Linked DNA regions of Homo sapiens: region 2 is linked to region 1. Evidence: promoter capture Hi-C in 16 types of primary human blood cells and fetal thymus (Javierre and others, 2016). All regions are on one chromosome and are shown on one strand. Each heading gives the region's core, a stretch centred on a gene start or on the middle of the fragment in contact. The rest is flanking DNA. Distances are from core to core; before and after follow the strand shown. Region 1 holds the start of SMUG1 (single-strand-selective monofunctional uracil-DNA glycosylase 1). Region 2 overlaps FLJ12825 (a long non-coding RNA gene).

Evidence for each region. The method cuts DNA at HindIII sites, captures the fragments that hold promoters and counts their contacts. A CHiCAGO score of 5 or more calls a contact.
Region 2: a fragment that was not itself captured here is called in contact with the fragment with the promoter of SMUG1 in region 1 in 2 of 17 cell types (total B cells and naive B cells); the score reaches 6.1 in total B cells.

The regions. Positions count from the first base shown.
Region 1 is chr12:54,187,379-54,190,451 of GRCh38, reverse strand. SMUG1 (single-strand-selective monofunctional uracil-DNA glycosylase 1) reads left to right here and starts at 1,467. Exons shown (of 4, transcript NM_001243787.2): 1 at 1,467-1,501; 2 at 2,550-2,633. It overlaps LOC105369777 (a long non-coding RNA gene), which reads right to left and starts at 1,355. Exons shown (of 3, transcript XR_944984.2): 1 at 1,250-1,355; 2 at 1-4. The HindIII fragment of the contact is 2,636 bases long and covers 1,156-3,073 here.
Region 2 is chr12:54,069,398-54,072,470 of GRCh38, reverse strand. The region is part of intron 1 of FLJ12825 (a long non-coding RNA gene); the gene reads right to left. Among named protein-coding and RNA genes, the nearest start is that of FLJ12825, 13 kb to the right of the region's middle. The HindIII fragment of the contact is 377 bases long and covers 1,339-1,715 here.

The DNA.
Region 1 (3,073 bases), core at 218-2,717:
AGTCCTGGGAAGGGAATAGCATCCTTTTTCTCTCACTTCTTCCTGTTCTGGGGTTTATAGGTCTCCTTTTCTACCACTCACAGGGAGACCTTGCTTCTGTGATTAGAGCCTTGGCTGTGCTAAGGTGTGTGGAGATTGTGGGGTGGGAGGAATATAGAAGATAACTAACCTTAGGGGGTTCCCAGTCTAATGAAAGTTTTAGAGTCACGACACAGAACCAGACCCAGATAGAGCACAAGAACAAAACTAGGAATAGGACAGATTTGGACATAGATATTGGGATGGGGGAATGGTGGGGGAATGGACTGTTAGGTGCAGCCATGGGATGAGGATTGATCAGGGAAGCCTTCCTGGACAAAGTATTTGAGGGAGAAGATTTGGATGGAAGAGTGATAGCTAACTTTATGTGTCTACTTGAGTGGTCTAAGGGACACCCAGATAGCTGGTAAAACATTATTTCTGGATATGTCTGTGGAGTGTTTCTGGAAGAGATTTGCATTTGAATTGGTAGACTAAGAAGATCACCCTCATTAATATGGGTGGGAACCATCCAATCCCTTGGGGGCCAGTAGAACAAAAGAGTGGAGGAAGGCAAATTCTCTTTCTTCATGAGCTGGGACATCTATTTTACCTGCCTTTGGACATCATTGGAGTTCCTGGTTCTTCGTCCTTCAGGCTCTGGGACTTAGCAGTGAGCCTCCTCCCCTGCTTTGGACTTTCCTGAATTATACCACCTGTTTTCCTGGTTCTCCAGTGTATAGACAGCAGAGCGGGAGACTGTGGGACTTCTTGGCCTCCACAATCCTGTGAGCCAATTCTTGGAATAAATCTCGTCATATAGATAGATATCCTGTTAGTTCTGTTCTCTGGAAAACTCTTGACTAATACTGAGGTTATAGGGTTGGGCAGATAGCAAGGCAGAGAAAGAAGTCAAAATGGTGACACTCTGGAGATGGGCTTGGACAGTAATGGGGGATGCCCCTTGCTAAAAAGTTGTTAGGAGCTACCAGAAATGTCTTCGTGGATGTTCTGTATAAGTAATGGCAGGCTGCAAAGGAGAAGTCTCTTATACCCACGGTGGCAGGGGGCCTAGCAATGGTCTTTAGCTATTGTTAATACCTTCAGGTGGGTGAGGGATTGGGGATGGTTGAAGCTTCCTGATTTGCAATCCCTTTGGGAAAATAGTGAATGAACTTTTGGAAGGGCGATGCCCTTTAGGGATAGAACCCAGGATTTCCTAGGTACTTACAGGCTGTGGCTTTTCACTTCTCAAGACTTCCTGATTTAACGCTGATGGAAAGATTAAACTACAATTCCCAGCGATCTTTAGGGCTAATTTAGTGCGCCTTCCGGGATTGGAGCATTTCCGGCGGAAGTGGCTGCGGGTACGCCAATCTCCTTCCCTAAACAATGTAGACTACGACTCCCACTGTCCTTAGCGCCGGGGGTTGGGTTTGGGGTGGGGGAAAGGAACCGGAAACGGGATGGGGAGCTGGACCAGGTGAGGAAGTAGGGGGCTGGGAATCCGGGACTGTGGGGGCAAGTTGACGGCTCCCAGGGTCGTCGGGGCTGAGCCGAGAGGGTGGTTAGAATTTCTATATTTTGGGGTCCCTCCCTCCGTATGGGGTAAGACTCAGTGCAGGGAGAGCCCAGCCTATGAAACCGCCTGGGAGGTCTGCAGGATCAAGGCTTTCCAGTCGGCCGGAGCCAGCGGGCGCCCCCGGAGGTTTTGTATGGTGCCTTAGTAGTCGGCCCCTTTGGAACCAGATGAAATGGTCTTTTTGAGTTTATGCTTTATTATTATTATTGTTTATTTATTTATTTTTCTGAGACGGAATTTTGCTCTGAATTCCAGGCTGGAGTGCAATGGCGCGATCTCAGCTCACTGCAGCCTCCGCCTCCCGGGTTCAAGCGATTCTTCTGCCTCAGCCTCCCGAGTAGGTGGGATTACAGGCGCGCGCCACCATGCCCAGCTAATTTTTGTATTTAGTAGAGACTGGGTTTCACCATGTTGGTCAGGCTGGTCTCGAAGTCCTGACCTCGTGATCCGCCCGCCTCGGCCTCCCAAAGTGCTCGGATTACGGGTGTGAGCCACCGCGCCCGGCCTATGCATTATTATTATTATTATTATTATTATTATTATTATTATTATTATTTATTATTATTATTATTATTATTATTATTTCGTTTAAGGATATTTATTATTGTCCCTGGACTCCCGGAGTGCCTCCAAAGGACAGGGGAGTGCATATGTGATTTCGATTCCTTCCTCACTTCCCGGATTTGATGTCAGAGAAGTCTGACATCAGTCTGAAGTCGGCCCTTGGTGGTCAGCCTTATCGCTTGGTCCAACTCCGCTGTCTTTGTGCTTAATGTAGTATGACACCGTATTTTATAAAATATCTACATTTCTTAAGCCTCTGGCTCTTGGGGCGACTTTGGGTAGAACTTACAAGTTCCTCCTTTGGGTTCTCTTAGTGTTTTGTTCCGGGTATTAAAGCTCACATCACACTGTATTACAGTTAGTTGTTTATTTGCCCTCACAGCAGATTATGAGCTTACAGAAAGCCTGGCCTACATTTTACTCTTTTTGGATTTCTTCCTCATCAAGAGACTGCTGCAGTGCCTGTCATGTAAGAGACTCATAAGTATTGAAAAAAAAAATGAGTTAACAGGTGGTAGGTTGGATGGAGTATGTGATTTTCCATAGAGAAGAGAGTTAAATGAGTTGCTCAAGAGAACCTTCTTAGAGATGAAACAGGAGTAGAATTCAAATCAATTGACTTCCAGCCTGTGGCTCTTGCTATGAGATCAGGCTTTGAAGTTATGGAACAATGAAAGTAGTATCTTGCCACTCTTTTCCCCAGCCTTGCTGTTTCCAACACAGGTGTCTAAATGTCAAAGGTGGGCTCAAGACTTCTCGAGATTCTAGAGCTGGAGCAGCCAATCTGCTAATGTTGGTGTTGCATGGGGAGATGCAAAGCAAGGTCCCCTGAAACACTGGCGTTCTCCACAGCACCCTTCTCAGCTTTTGTATGAGCCCAGTTTGTCCTGGGTAGCCACCTGGACAACA
Region 2 (3,073 bases), core at 278-2,777, 120 kb after region 1:
TCACCCACCCAAGGTCACATCACTAGATCTGAACCCTGGCTGTGTGTTTCCCTATCTGCTAGGTTTTAATACTTTCAAACCATGCCTTATGGGTTAGATATACAGTAGATAATCATAGAAATGGAAGGGATTTTTCCCCCTCTGGAATAGTTTTATATCCTCTGGACATACAGGGGGCCCCATGAAGTACTTCTACACTGGTTTCTATAGTGGCTGACCCAAATGCACGTATATTATCAGAATTTCCATCCCCCTGATTTAAGTTTTACTGGCAGCCTCTGTGATTTTTTGGTGTGATAACTACCCTCACCACTTAGAGTCCACCCATTTCCCAGGACTAGAAATATACTCATAATTGCAGGCATCTGGTTTCTAGGGGAGTCCCTGAGTTCCCACTTCCTCAGGCAGAATCTAGCTTTCCCACAAGGATCAGGCAATGTGAAACTGAGAAGTATCTAGAGATTAATCTTCAGGGCCCCTCATCTCCCTAAGCATACCCCCTAAGCACTACTTTTCTGATTCTATCCTTGTTTGATGAAGTATCCCAGTGGTGCTTTTGTATTTTAAAGGATGTGATCTGCAGAGGACTGTACTTAACACCATGTGCTTTAATGGTGGAACTTAAGGCTTTTTTGTGGCAGGATAATTGGGGAGGGGGAAACAGATCCTTCCCAGGGGCTTTAAACTGAATCACTGCAAAAGGCTGATCCTGCATCTCATTATCCATTACATCAGATGAAAGCTACAAAATTGGATCCCTTTATTCTATTTGAAACTAAGCAGATAGTGGGCTGATTTCTCTGTTTTCACCTGGCTATTGGCATCATGCAGACACCCTTTCCAACTTCCTGCCCCATCTTGTTTCTGCCTCTCTTCCCTCAGGGGCAGGGTCCTTAAGGGAAACAGCTCCCCATAGTGTGTCTGCAGGGGCTCTGTGGAAAAGGTTGAGTTGTCAAATAAGGAGACACCACAGCTAACACCCCCTACTCCCCCACCCCCCACCAACTCTGGAATGAAGATGGAGAGTTTTCTGTGCCTGGTTTGGTTCACAGAGACACATAGTCCATCATCTGATTTGCTACAAAGAGTATTCCTTCTCCCTGCCCCCCAGCATCCTTCAGTTTTTGCTTAGAGTCTCAGAGCTGGAAGGATCTTAGTGATAACCTAATCAAACCACTTCATTGTGAAGGAAGAGAAACTGAGGCTCAGACAGAGATCAGAACCCAGGTGTTCTGATCCCTGAACCAGTACTAGTCCCAGCACCATGCTGACTCTGGCTCTGTGTGTTTCAGCTGGATATTTTTGGAGTTGCTCCCTCCAAACCCCAGAATCCAAGCTTGCTCTCCATGGCAGGGAGAGTCACCAACCATCATAATAAGATGGACCCTTCTTCCTGGTTGTGGCCACTTTTTGGCACAAGCCTCATCATACACCATGCCCCATAATCCCACTGGAGCCATCTGTGATCTCTGCGATATTAGAGGGCTTCTCCCCTCTCCCTGCTTCTGTACCACATTACATATCAACTCACCTTAATCCATTTTCTAGAGCTGGCCAGGGCCCAGATAAGGGGCTGAAGGTCTTAGGACAGACAACAACGGGGTAAGGGAAGTTTTTGCCTCTAAATTCCCCACCTCCAGCCTCAGATGAGGAGAGAAAGAGGCTCTCTTGAATAAAAAAATTTCCTTAAGATCTTGTCAAGGCTTCTTCAAGCTTCAAGGGAGAAAACCTCTCTTATTGGATGAGTTTTATCTTACTGTCCAACGCTGAGGACTGGAGGCAAGGGATAGGGGTTTGAGCTTGGCCTGAAGAATCTGAATACACATAAGAAAGAATATATCAGTGATGAGAGCTCTCAGACAGTTGTGTTCTCTGAACATACCAGGTAAGTTCTCCTCCATCTGAGATGGCTAAGTTAACCTCACTGAGTTCTTTCCAGTTCCAAGATTCTGGTTAGAAACTTCCATTTCCCAGTGTTTGGTGGTCAGCCTAATCCCGGATTCCCCAGCCCATGCTCACTCAGTTTCCCAATGGGCCTTGGCTCCAGGAAACAGTTTTCAATTTCACGTTGGCTCTAAACAGCTTCCCCATCCCTAAGAAACATAACAAAATTGAGCCAACTTAAGAATAGGATCCACCAGATGACTTAGTCTGACATGGGCACAATGGCAGCGGACTAGGAATCCAGAGTCATGGTGTCAGTTAAGGGCTGAATTGTGTCTCCGCAAGTTCCATTTCTTGAAGTCCTAACCCTCAGTAACTCAGAATGTGACTGTATTTGGAGATAGGCCCTTTAAAGAGGTAATTAAGTTAAGGCAAGATTATATGGGTAGGCTCTAATTAAATATAACTACTGTCCTTATAAGAAGAGATCAGCAGGCCAGGTGCGATGGCTCATGCCTGTAATCCCAGCACTTTGGGAGGCCGAGGTGGGCGGATCACCTGAGGTCAGGAGTTCGAGACCAGCCTGACCAACATGGTGAAACCGTGTCTCTACTAAAAATACAAAAATTAGCCAGGCATGGTGGCTTGCGCCTGTAATCTCAGCTACTTGGGAGGCTGAGGCAGGAGAATCTCTTGAACCTGGGAGGTGGAGGTTGCAGTGAGCTGAGATCGTGCCATTGCACTCCAGCCAGGGCAACAAGAGTGAAAATCCATTTCAAAAAAAAAAAAAAAGAGATTAGGACACAGACAAAGCAGAGGGAGACAACAGACATCTACAAGCCAAGGAGAGAGGCCTCAGAAGAAACCAACTCTGCTAACACCTTGATCTTGGACTTCTAGCCTCCAGAACTATGAGAAAATAAATTTCTGTTGTTTAAGCTGTCCATGCTGTGGTTCTTGTTATGGCAGTCCAAGCAAACTAATATGGTGTCTAAATGTGTCTCAGCCATTTACTCGCTGTGTGACCTTGGACAAGTCATTTAAAACTCTCCAAGCCTCAGTTTCCACATGAACTCTAAGGTCCCTTCAATATCTAACATTCTGTGATTCCATACAAAGAAAAAGCCTCAATTCACTATACAACTTTTACTTTCTTGCCAATGATAATAGTTTTAAGTTCCTGATAAAT